3 separate regions of the Homo sapiens genome follow, and regions 1 and 2 are each linked to region 3. Evidence: promoter capture Hi-C in human tissues and cell types (Jung and others, 2019). All regions are on one chromosome and are shown on one strand. The core of a region is centred on a gene start or on the middle of the fragment in contact, and the rest is flanking DNA. Distances in the headings are between cores, read along the strand shown. Region 1 overlaps SLC5A4 (solute carrier family 5 member 4). Region 2 overlaps C22orf42 (chromosome 22 open reading frame 42). Region 3 holds the start of RFPL3S (RFPL3 antisense).

Region 1 (4,287 bases), core at 792-3,291, 140 kb before region 3:
TCACATGTACATCAGGAATGGGTTTTGTTAAGAGGGAAATTCCCAGGGTGACCAGCATGGACCCAAAAAAGAGAACGATGGAAAAGTACAGATAGTGCACTCCACAGATAATCTTGGGACAGTTACTGGGAGCCAAGCAACTCCCTGTTCCATAAGCAAACTCTGTTATCATACGAATGAGGCCCATTGCAAGTCCAACCATTAGACCCCAGAATGCTCCCTGCAAAAGAAGCAAGAAGAAAATCAGAATGTTTAGAAAATATGAGAAGCTTATTCAAGTAAGTCATCATTATAATCCTGCCTGCTTTCTCAGTTAAGGACCAACAAATGGCTAACCTTGGGCACAAGGTTACCGACATAGAGAAAATTGCAAATACATGTGCTTCTTAGTTGGATGCTGCTTTCCATGATCCTGAACTGTACATACCACTGCACCATCGTTGATTCTCCAATACCAGGACACTACTGTCTACACTGACCCAAGCTGAAGTTTTCCTTGACTTTTGTTTCATAGTTAGATCAAAACACTTGTGATTTATTTGATAAAATAAGCAGAAGTATCAATTATGTTACACAATTTCCAGAGCTGATATTAGGTAGTTTTGAGAGTTCTATGAAGCTCTTGATAATTTATTTCTGTGAGGAGTTGATGGGGGTGGAAACATGTGTCTGTTCCTCTGCTCAAGATGTTATGTTTTAGAAAAACTGTATTGCATGGAGATTAATGGTATGAGCTTTGGATGGAAGAAGATCTAAGCCTGAATACCAAGATCCCACTTACTAATATTAAGTAACATGTGGAAAGCACATAGATACTAACCCCTCTGCACCTGTTCCTCATCTGAAAATCATAATAGTAAGGCTAGTACTAAGGAATGATTGAAAGATTAAGGGTACATGATCCACAATAATCAATTAATTACATATATCACAATAGTAATGAACACAATTTGAATTCTTAGCAGTGTGGTAGGTTTTCTTCTAAGAATTTCACATATTTTATCTCACTTAATACTCACCACAATCCCATAGAATAGGTGCTATCATTATCTTCATTTTACAGAGACTCAAGCAATTTGCTTAGGATCACAATACGATTAGGTGGTATAGCCATGATTGGGCCCTGGCAGTCTGCCTCCCAAACATGTTCCTCAACTCTGCACCATGTATGTACGTAATATTTTGTAAGAAACATATAAAGACTGTACTATGAATGTGCGCTATATTTTTATACTTTAGCAAGGATCAGGAATTGTGGCTGACCTCAACTAAAATTAAGATGGGCCATGATTTGCATAAATAGGGGAGAAAGAATGTATTTTGATACCCCAGTGAAATAAACGATTTTTTTCTCACTCCAGCAGGGAAACTTTTTTTCCAGTTTTCACTCACCTGTTCATTGACTCTTTTACAGAAGATGGCAAGCACAAAGACAGCTGCAATTGGAGGCCCAAGGTAGCTAGAAATTGATTCTGTGTAATGGATTAGTTGTCCATTTTGAGAAACTTGTACCAGTGGGACCCACACAATGCTCACAACAGTTAATAGAAGAACAAATATCCTGAGAAGAAAACAACATAATTTAAACATTAAACAAAAGCACTATAGTTACTTCCATTGTGCTTTAGTTCTAGCGTTCATTCTTGTTGTCACTCATTGATTTTCCAAACAAAATCAAGCTCCTTGATCATACATAAACCCATGCTGTGCTTAATGGTGATCTTTTAGTAAAGTGCCAATAAAGCAATTGCTTGTCTATAATTAATCATAATAGCTTCATCTATGAGATTAAATATCTATTCATAAAAATAGTTAAAATATCAGTGATTAATAACTCCAATACACTACATGTAGTATATCAATTGGAAATAAATACCACACTACTTCTATTAACCAGCAATTATTTGTATGATAAAGAAAGCAGACTTCCATTTTTTGTTCTTTTGCTAGCTTGCAGGGAACAAAGTTGGTTTGCATAGGTTAGAATGGAAACAGCCTCTATCTCAGAATGCTGGGTAAATCAGCAAGAAATGCTAACTTGTGCATTTTACTACTTGAGTACTTCAGCAGGTAAAAAGCGTGTTAAAGGCTCCTGTTGTCCAGGGAGCATGACTTCTTAACCTTTCTAAACTGCAGCATTGTCTGTGCTTGTTCTGTGAGTAAATGAACCGACGCAATTTACTGCAGTGTGCGTAAAAGGCCATTCATCTCTCTCTGCTCACATGAAACAGAGAAGCAGTTGTGGGGTGGAGGAAGGAACAAGCATTTGGGCAGGAGACTGAAGCACAAATGTCTCATTTAAATGTTACAAAATCACTGCATCCTTGCAACAACTAAATGTGATAAACTATGGGAAGTCTTAGCATAATGCCTAAACCACAGTAAGGATTCAATAAATTACACTTACTGTTGGTATTTTTTTTTAATTACCATTGGAAGACAAATCATGTGCTTTCCCAACTCATTCAGTTCCAGTTTCCTATCACATGTAGAATAAAATCCCGTCTTGTTATGACTTCAATGGCCCTGGATGACCTCGCCTCCAGGCACCTTTCTGACCTTGCTCTTCACTCTCCCACTGGCTTCTCATGGATGAACCTCACTCCTGCTTGTTCTCAAACATATCACATATGTGACTGTGGGAGGAAAGCAACCCTCGTTTTTCCTTCCCCCAGAGCACCATGGGGCTCACTCCCACACTTCCTGCATTGCAGGCTCTGCTCAGATGCCACCTCCTCAGAGAGGACTCCCTGAGCACCTGGATGAGGTTACTTCCATCCTTTCTTCCTGCTTTGTCTTTCTAGCACCTCTGGTCACCTGAGGTAGCATACCTTTATTAATTGTCTATCTTCCTGACAAAGGCATATATTCCACAAGGCAAGAATTTTAAAAACGTACATGTTTTTTTCCTATTTGTGTTTTGTGAGATAGTAGACATTTGATAACAGAGAGAGGGGAAAAGAAAAAGTTATTACTTTATCATTGAGACTTAAGGAGGATGTGTGTCCAAGATCATATACCTATCAGTGGGACGACTGCATCTTGGGTCTCCTGAACACCAACCAGTACCTTCTCTACTAAAGGTACACTCCTGCCCTACTGTACTCCCTCTCCTACAGCATTTGTCCAGAGTCAAGCTCTGGGCCAAGTGAGGCCTTTGGGTTTTGCCCCAAGTGTTTTAATTTACTAAAGCTATTGTTACTGTCACCAACAAAGTACAGTCTTTTAAATAGTTGGTCAGTTTCTCTTGATACCAATTTCTTTGAAAAGAGTAGACAAATTCTGATATCTTACTACAGTGGAACATCACAGAGAAAGAAATTACACTACAGCTACACATAGCAACACGGTTGAATGTTGCAAACATAACATGAGCAAAAGAAGCCATATTTCGGCAGGTGGGGATGGCTCACACCTGTAATCCCAAGACTTTGGGAGGCTGAGGTGGGCGGATCACGAGGTCAAGAGATCAAGACCATCTGGCCAACATGGTGAAACCCCGTCTCTACTAAAAATACAAAAATTAGCTGGGCATGGTCGTGCACGCCTCTAGTCCCAGCTACTCGGGAGGCTGAGGCAGGAGAATCGCTTGAACTCGGGAGGCTGAGGCAGGAGAATCGCTTGAACTCGGGAGGCAGAGGTTGCAGTGAGCCAAGATCGAGCCACTGCACTCCAGCCTGGGCGACAGCAAGACTCTGTCTTGAAAAAAAAATTGTATTTCAAGGGATACAAATTCAATTATTCTACTTATGATAGCCTGAAGTTGGAAAAGACTAAGCTATAGCATCACAAGTCACAGTGGTTAGCTTTGGAACGAGGTGGCCCAAGACGAACGAACTTCTGGGTGCTGGTAATTTCCATGTCTTGACTTGATCGATGGTTACATGGGTCCTCACTTGGTGACACATCTCTGAGCTGTGCATCCATGTTTTAACTGTTTTCTTTATGTGTGCTGTACTTTGATTTTTAAAACATTTTACAAAATGCTATGACAGGCCAGGCCGGCGGTGGCTCACACCTGTAGTCCCAGCACTTTGGGAGGCCGAGGAGAATGGATCACCCAAGGTCAGGAGTTTGAGACCAGCCCGGCCAACGATGTGAATCCCTATCTCTACTAAAAATACAAAAAATTATCTGGGCATGGTGGCGGGCACCTGTAATCCCAGTTACTCAGGAGGCTGAGGCAGGAGAATCGCTTGAACCCGGGAGGCGGCGGTTCCAGTGAACTGGGAGCATGCCATTGCACTCCAGCCTGGGCAAAAAGAGTGAAACTCTGTCTCAAAAAAA
Region 2 (4,303 bases), core at 669-3,168, 220 kb before region 3:
CCGCCGTGTGCAGACACCTGCACATCTTCAGTGGGACCTAGGAGAACACAGAGTGACAGTCAGTGCATTGGTGCTGCTGAGGAATCCCACAAGGAGCCCTGGGGGATGTGGACCGGGGCTGGAGTGTGTGGAGGTGGGCGGTTGACAGGCATGGACTGAGCTGCTGCTGGACCATTCTCCTTGGTGCTGAAGGAAGGCAAAGGAGAAGGGTAGAAAGAAATGAAAGAGCCTTGGCTTTCCAGCTAGGGCAACCTCATGAATGTGAAATAGTCACCCTAAGAACCGGTTAACACAGAAAGGCGCTGTACTATAGAAACAGGAAGTACATTCGTGGCTGCCTAGATCCAGGGGTGTGGGAGTTGGGAAAGACAGAGGAGTGACTACTAGTGGGGTTTCTTTGAGGGGGAATAAAGAGGTTCTAAGATTAGATTGTAAAATGGTTGCACAACCCTGTGAATATAGTAAAAACGCTGAATCACTTACGTTAAATGAGTGAATTGTTTTGCATGTCAACTACATGTAAATAAAGCTGTTTAAAAAAAAAATACGTACGGTGGTCGTGCTTGGCCTCAGGTATTTCCTGCAATAAGAGAAAAGAAAAAGAAACACCATGAGGATCAGATCATGCTGGGTTCTGTTGGCAAAGGCCTTTTATTCACTTGGTGAAATAAAAAACCGGATGTGAAACAGTGATCAAGTCACTGGCCCCCAAATAAAGCATAGAGGATGCTTGTGGAAAATGCAGTGGGTTTTTTGGAATATTTAGCAAGTCTATGTTGGCTGGCAAATACAAAATTATTTTTCAAGGAGAAAAGGTTGCTACTGAGAAATACACTCACTACCAAACAGTTTGTAAGTGATGCCGTCCTTTGACGGCCATCGTCAATCAGGCCTCAGTTGGTCATAACCTCCAGTGACCGGTCTCTAGAGTCCATGACACTGAGGCCTGAATCATGATGGCAGTCAAAAATGATACTCACTTGATATTCTAGAAGCCCCAGAAAAAACAAAAAGCATTTCTCTTCCAGAGAAAGAAATACATCTTACAATATCTGATGTCATATTCTCCTCCACACCGCCGTGTGCAGACGCCTGCACATCTTCAGTGGGACCTAGGAGAACACAGAGTGACAGTCAGTGCATTGGTGCTGCTGAGGAATCCCACAAGGAGCCCTGGGGGATGTGGACCGGGGCTGGAGTATGTGGAGGTGGGCGGTTGACAGGCATGGACTGAGCTGCTGCTGGACCATTCTCCTTGGTGTTGAGGGAAGGCAAAGGAGAGGGGCAGAAAGAAATGAAAGAGCCTTGGCTTTCCAGCTAGGGCAACCTCATCAATGTCACCTTAAGAACAGTTTAATACAGAAAGGCACTGTATGGTTCAGCGACAGCATCTCATCACACCTCCTCCCCATTTGAAGGTCCAGGCAAATCCCCAATTTTATGAAATGTTACAAGATCATTTAACTTCTGTGGATCTACATATCCTGCCACTACATTGATCATCTACCCTGTTGTGTTCTTCAAATTGTAGTGAAGCATACATATTTATCATTTTAATTATTAAGTGTGCATTTTAATGAGATTACATTCAATGAGTTACATTCAGGGTGCTGTGTCAATAATGAGAAATATCTAAATTCATAATCTAAGCTTCAACTTGGGCAATGAGAGAAAGACAGCAGTGTAATATAGAACAGAGGAAAAATAAATAATGATTGCAGAATACAATGGAATAGAAAACAGGAAATCCTCAGAGAAAATCAACAAAACCAAAAACCAGTTCTTTGAAAAGATCAGTAATGTTGATAAACCTCTACCTTGGCTACCCACAAAGGAAAGAAAGAAGTCACAGTGTACTAATAATATCTGTTTAAGAAGAGTCAAATCAAAAAATAGTAAATAATAAAGGAATATCCTGAACACATCTGTGCTCACAATTGGATACAGTAGATGAAATGAGCTAACTGTTAAAATCTATTTTAGAAGACCAAAACTCAGGAGAAATAGATCATCTGAATAGGCCTATATTTATTTTAGAAATTGAATCAATGATTAATATCTTTTCAAAAAACTAAAACACTATATTCAGATGATTTCACTGGTAAATTCTACCGAAATTCTTACAAAGAAAAATGTAGTCTTACCATACAAGCAAGTAATCATAATCCTAAGTATTTCCTCAGTTACATTTTAAAAATTGTGTTTCCAAACAAGACACAGGAAGGTTTATAATAGCTGTATTCATAATTGACCAAACTGAAAGCAAATGTCTAAACATTTGAGATGTCCTTTACTATCAAAGTTGAACTAAGCCTGGGCAACATGGTGAAATCCCATCTCTACAAAAAAAAAAAAAAAAATTAGCTTGGTATAGTGGCACGTGCCTTATGGCCAGCTACTTGGGAGGCTGAGGTGGAAGGATCCCCTGAACCTGGGGAGGTCAAGATCGCAGTGAGCTGTGATTGCACCAATGCACTCCTGGGCGACAAATGAGACCTTTTCACACACACACACACACACACACACAAAAGAACAACTCTAACTTGTCAATATTACTTTACTTGTGTAGTTGTATCATCTACCATTGATTTAATGCATTTAAATTGGCACAAATGAAATAAATGAAGAACATGACATAGCATTTACTGAGTTTCTCTAATATGGAGCACTGAATGAATAAACTGGAATTGTTTGCTTAAATGAACTTAATGATTTAATTTCCACATTACCTATATTTTCTAGAGGCCAAATCCCGTGCCGTCTCCATATTATTTTTAACCAGCGCTTGGAGCGGGCGTCCAAACCTGCAAGGTAGAGCAGACTTCTTATAGATTCTAGGAAATGTATTATAATAAAGACAGTGCTTGACATGTTGCTGGCAGAGGATAGCAGAGAAATTAGTAAAAACTTATTCACAGATGAAAGTTTTGATCCCGGTTTGCACCGTCTGCTTTTCAACTCTACCTGAATTAGATTTGGGTTCTTGGAAGATTTTGCAAGGTTCGTTGCATTTAAAACAGACTGTTTGTGCAGGCAGATACCTTTATTTAGATGAGACAATATAGAAAAGCAGCAGATCCAAGTCACCAAGAATGGCCTGGGTTCAAATCCTACTTAGAATCTGCACATACCTGGGAGAGTGAAATGAACCCCTCTGTGCCTCAGTTCCCTATTCTGAGATGTGGGAATGTTAGTAGATCTCTGCTATAGACCTACTAAGATCTATAGGGCTAAAAAGGATGAGATACAGATAAAGGCTTAAGAAGACTCATGCTTTGTAAATGCCCAACAGTGTTCAATCATTCAATGTCTGGGAGAATAATCCAGATACTTGGTAGTGGTTGAATACAGAGAGGGAGCGTGTATGGCTCCCGGGCAGGGGAGGGTGGAAGGTGACTTCACTGTTTCCATGGGCATGATGCTTTCCAGCTCATGAAAAAGATCTGTCATTTCCTTGATCCCCACATTAGCCCTGAGGGACAGGCAGAGCAGGGGCTACAACCCGTATTTTCCAATTCAATGAATTAAAACTTAGACGTTTTGAGTGACTTGCCCAGAGTTACCACAGTGAGGCATGAAGATCTGGGACAAGAATGTAGTTGGTTCCCTGGGGACAGAGATCCCAGAACATCTGAGTCCTCTAGATCATGCCCTGGACCCTGAACTGAGAGCTCTTCTCACAAGCTTTGTCAAATCCTGCTGCCCCAATATTTCTTTGGGATGGTTGATGCCCTGGAGAGATGGCAGGTGGCTTACTGCATTTACTCACCTGGTCTATTATCCCTGCATTTTCACTTTGATTAGCTTTATGACCCATAAGACAAACATTTAAAGTCTCTCAGTTATGATGCACAGTCTGGGATTTTACCTAAATCCACTCTATTTTGGGTGATTTTACCTAAATCTCCCATCAGGTGATTCTCATCTGCTGGCCTGGAGGTGGCCTGCCATGTAAGAGGACACACAGCATACCATGGAGCTGCTGCGTGCCCCAGTCCTGTGCACACTCACGCCTTGCTTCTGCTTCCCCTGCTCCGACAATCCTAATTCTGGCTTCCAAAGCAATCCTGTACTTCCCTCTCAGTTCTCAGACTTGCCTAAACTGTTTAACGTTTTAATCAATGTTGTGACCATGACTGAGCTGTGACATTTGATATATCATAGTATATTTTTATCCATTTATAGATTTGTTAATAGCATTTAACTTCATTTTTCAGAGTTTTAGGAACATTTCTGGGCTAGGTGTCCTGGCACATGGCTGTAGTCCTGACATTTTTGGAGGCTAAGGCAGGAGGATTGCTTG
Region 3 (4,370 bases), core at 1,464-3,963:
TTGATCTTCTGGGGGAACTGAAAGGACACAACATGACTGTCAGTTCATTGGTGGTGACATGAACAAAGGGCTAGAACTTATGGATGTGGTTGGTTAACAAGCATGAATTGAGCTTCTCCTGGGCCATCCTCTTCTATGGACCAAGGAAGGCAGAGAGACGGGCAGAAAGGAAATGAGAAATAGAGCCTTTGTCTTTCCAGGTAATAGCAGATGAAAGCGACACGAAATACTCAAACTTCAAATGAGCAACTACTAAAATGCATGCTAGAATTCAACCACAGAGTCCTGTCACTCCCTCAGCCCATTTTAAAGTCCAGCAGAACTGCCACTGACTCCTTGATATTGACCAACTCCCTTTCAACCTCCACAGACCCCCATCTGCTGCTGTAACATTTAACATCTGGGGTATAGGATTCAGCCCCTGTTTATGTGTAAATTTTTATTGAGGAACTAAATTCAATATCAGGTACCAGGGCTAATTATATTTACTCAATTCTTTGTTATAAATCAATTATTAAAAACTGGAAAATACTGAAATACATGTTAAAATATCCACTGTAAATCAAAGATCTTCCTTTTAGTCTTCCCTTCCTATCCCTTGTGTTTGCAATCATTGCATGAGGGGGCCTAGTTTCAGCCAGGTCTAGTTCACCTAGCCATATGAGGTCTAGTTTCAGCCCAAGCTACCCACAGTGAAGGAAGGCAGAGTGAGGAGATGACCCCATGTGAGCACCGAGGCTCTTTAACCCAGCTGTACAGGAGAGTTGCCACAAGGGTGACACCTGAGGCTAATTGTGAAGTGGTATCCTGTGTTCTGTGATTCTTGTGCCTTAGCCACCTGAGTAGCTGGAATTACAGGTGTGCACCACCACGCCCAGCTAATTTTGCATTTTTAGTAGAGATGGGGTTTCTCCATGTTGGTCAGGCTGGTCTTGAACTCCTGACCTCAGGTGATCTGCCTGCCTCGGCCTCCCAAAGTGCTGGGATTACAGGCATGAGCCACCGCGCCCAGCTGCCTTATTTATTCTTAACACATGTAAGTGCCTCTAACTTTCGATTGTTTCCAAGTCATGGAACGAACAACCTCCTTAGAAAGAACTCTGAAGGATAGGTCAGGAGAACTAAGTCACACAATCCATCAGAAACAGTATTAACAGTTTTTCAAAGTTACACTTTATATGCAAACTTGTACAATTATCATCTTATTATTTTTAAATGTATCTTTACATATATGTATGTGACCTACGTGTTTCCTGGTGTGAGTAAATCTGTATGTTCTTGGTTAATAGTGTTTACCGATTCATTTCACTTCTCTATCTTTGTATGTTGAAATATGAACTACTCTCTGGATGAGAAAAAATGATTACACTTGATTATATTTACCTTTGGAAAGGTAAGTGGTTTGGGTGATTGACTATAATTGTTATCTCTATCATTTTGGATAAACCCCAATCATAAAAATAAGTGTGTTTTGTTTCACACACTGACACATAGACAATACACATTCTTACTTCTTTTCAAAAAGTTAATATGTGAATATAAATGACATATTCCAAATTTACTAAACTGAATACACATTTCATGAAAAAGGAGAGAGGAAAGACATACTAAAAACAGGCCAGGGCCTGGTGTGGTGGCTCACGCCTGTAACACCACCACTTTGGGAGGCCGAGGCAGGTGGATCACCTGAGGTCAGGAGTTCAAGACCAGCCTGGCCAACATGGTAAAACCTTGTCTCTACAAAAATACAAAAATTAGCCGGGCATGATGGTGGGTGCCTGAAATCCCAGCTATTCGGGAGGCTGAGGCGAGAGAATCATTTGAACCCGGGAGGCGGAGGTTGTAGTGAGCCGAGATCGCACCGTTGCACTCCAGCCTGGGCGACAGAGTGAGACTCCATCTCAAAAACAAACAAACAAACAAAAAAACAACAACAAAAGACAAAGATGGACACACTTCGTTGTGTTAAAAGCCTCAAAGACATCTGCATCATTCTAGCTTTGCTCCTAATTTTTAAAATTAATGATTTTAATAGGTTCTTAATTAGGTAAAAACTGCATTAAAACATACTTTGCCATATTTTTCCCAGAAGGATACCTAATTGGGTGGTTTGAGGGGTGCCAGATGTAACAGGAAATAAGACATGTCTTTTAAATAAAGGAAAAGCTCAAAGGCATCCTGCTTGATACTAGAATCAAATATATAAATTGAGGAATAAAACATAACCGGGAAACACATTTATAACTGCATATGAAAAATACAGAGGAGAATTTTTTAATAAAATATATTTTTAAATATTAACTAGTACATTTGAGAGGACAGCATTCAACAGGCCAATGTGAACATACCTTTAATGCAGGAACTCAGGTTCCCCATAAGAAAGACCAGAATCTGTGAAAATGACAGCAAGCATGTTCAACCTGCTATGAACTTTGAAAAACTCAGCACAGACAGTGGCAGTTAGGACCGAGGGCAAGATATACCCAATCACATAACCATGGTGATAGGAGCATCATCAACGTCTCAGGGTAAAGTCACAATGTGTATTGTGAGGTCCGCTTTCTGCTGCACCAACAAGAGTGCTTTCACACGCACAGGAGGGTCATTAAAGATTAGGCCTTTTACGGCAGGGAGTGGTGGCTCACACCTGTAATCCCAGCACTTTGGGAGGCCGAGGTGGGTGGATCACGAGGTCAGGAGATAGAGACCATCCTGGCTAACATGGTGAAACCCCGTCTGTACTAAAAACACAAAAAATTAGCCGGGCGTGGTGGCGGGAGCCCCCAGCTACTCGGGAGGCTGACGCAGGAGAATGGCGTGAACCCGGGAGGCGGAGCTTGCAGTGAGCCGACATAGCGCCACTGCACTCCAGCCTGGGCGACAGAGCGAGACTCCGTAAAAAAATAAAATAAAATAAAATAAAATAAAAGATTAGGCGTTTTACTTAAAAAAAAAACAACAAAACCCAAGCTCATTAATTACTATTCTGTGCTTATTAAAATAAGTTTTAGGAGGAGAAATTGTGTACCCCAAAATACACTCAATGGCAAGAATTTCAAACTGAGCAGGGGCAAAACCGATATGTTAGTAACAACCAGAAGTTCCATTCTCGATTCGAAATTCCATTGCCAAATATTTCTACCATTCCTGAGTCATCTAATATTTCTAGAACCAATAAGCAAACTGTTCAGAATTAAAGACAGCATAAATGGATATTGTTATAAAAGTCATGTTTCTTAAAAAGTGACATTTTTTAAAGTCACATTTTAAAAGTCATATTTCCCTAAAAAGTCATATTTCTACCATTCCTGAGTGATCTAATGTTTCTAGAAGCAATAAACTGTTCAGAATTAGAAAAAAGTGTTACTTGATATTATAAAAATCATATTTCTCTCACAATATAATTATGAAACTTATTTTTCCACTTATCTCTATATATTACTATGCACTTATTTATCTCCCAAACTTTGTGAATTCACAGAGGAATTTGTCTACCATTGTGTATGTAAACGGCTGGCCATTCACTGAGTATTTAAAGGAAAAAAAAATCACTATATTTTCACCAGTGCATCTTCTCGGTGGGGTGAACACTTTGGGTGAATACATATAATTTTTTATTTGAGACAGGGTCTCACTCTGTCACTCAGGCTGGAGTGCAGTGGCTTGATCATGGCTCACTGCAGCCTTGACCTCCCAGGCTCAGGTGATCCTCCCAACTCAGCCTCCCATGTAGCTGGGACTACAGGTTCTTGCCGCCATGCTCAGCTAATATTTTGTAGAGATGGGGTTTTTCCATGGTGCCCAGGCTGGTCTTCAACTCTTGGATTCAAGCAATCCACCCACCTCGACCTCCCAAAGTATTGGGATTAGAGGCGTGAACCACCATGCCCAGCCTAATACATATAATTAAAGTGTTTCTGAATGCAGAATTTTAGATAACTTTCAAAATGTATAACTACGTGTGTATTCTGGCTGATACATAACACCCAATTGCAAATACTTTTATGATATGCCCAAGAAAACAAGCTGTTGAAAGTGACCTGCCCTAAAATAAATAGAACAAATGAAAATTTTAGGGTTAAGATGAGAGAGTTGCTATGTTTCAAAGAGAATAGGTACCCTTCATGATATAAATATTACAGTACAAATGTCTATCATTGCTAAGTACAAATTTCTAGAACAAATAAATAGGTCACAAATGATGTATACAATCTGCATTAATATAGATGATGCTATATTTTGTCCAGTGATTATAAAACAGAGGGTGTAATGGGGTAGGTGCTGAAAGAATAGGTCATTCTGTGTTGTTATAAACAGAAAATTTCAATGGCTTCCAGATTGAACAAATATATGTATATACACAAATTATA

The links. Contacts are between HindIII fragments. The study calls those that stand out against the background at their distance.
Region 1: a contact is called between a fragment that was not itself captured here and the fragment with the promoter of RFPL3S in region 3, in 4 of the 25 tissues and cell types used here (liver, neural progenitor cells, small bowel and 1 more).
Region 2: a fragment that was not itself captured here is called in contact with the fragment with the promoter of RFPL3S in region 3 in 5 of the 25 tissues and cell types used here (H1 embryonic stem cells, dorsolateral prefrontal cortex, lymphoblastoid cells and 2 more).

Annotation. Positions count from the first base shown.
Region 1 is chr22:32,224,263-32,228,549 of GRCh38, forward strand. SLC5A4 (solute carrier family 5 member 4) reads right to left here. Exons shown (of 15, transcript NM_014227.3): 12 at 1,393-1,561; 13 at 5-220. The region is part of intron 2 of SLC5A4-AS1 (SLC5A4 antisense RNA 1); the gene reads left to right. Among named protein-coding and RNA genes, the nearest start is that of SLC5A4-AS1, 21 kb to the left of the region's middle. The HindIII fragment of the contact is 9,387 bases long and covers 1-4,287 here.
Region 2 is chr22:32,151,515-32,155,817 of GRCh38, forward strand. C22orf42 (chromosome 22 open reading frame 42) reads right to left here. Exons shown (of 9, transcript NM_001010859.3): 2 at 2,730-2,804; 3 at 1,048-1,112; 4 at 553-580; 5 at 1-37. Among named protein-coding and RNA genes, the nearest start is that of C22orf42, 5.6 kb to the right of the region's middle. The HindIII fragment of the contact is 4,749 bases long and covers 1-4,293 here.
Region 3 is chr22:32,368,551-32,372,920 of GRCh38, forward strand. RFPL3S (RFPL3 antisense) reads right to left here and starts at 2,714. Exons shown (of 5, transcript NR_104232.1): 1 at 2,648-2,714; 2 at 2,349-2,391; 3 at 1-17. The HindIII fragment of the contact is 22,540 bases long and covers 1-4,370 here.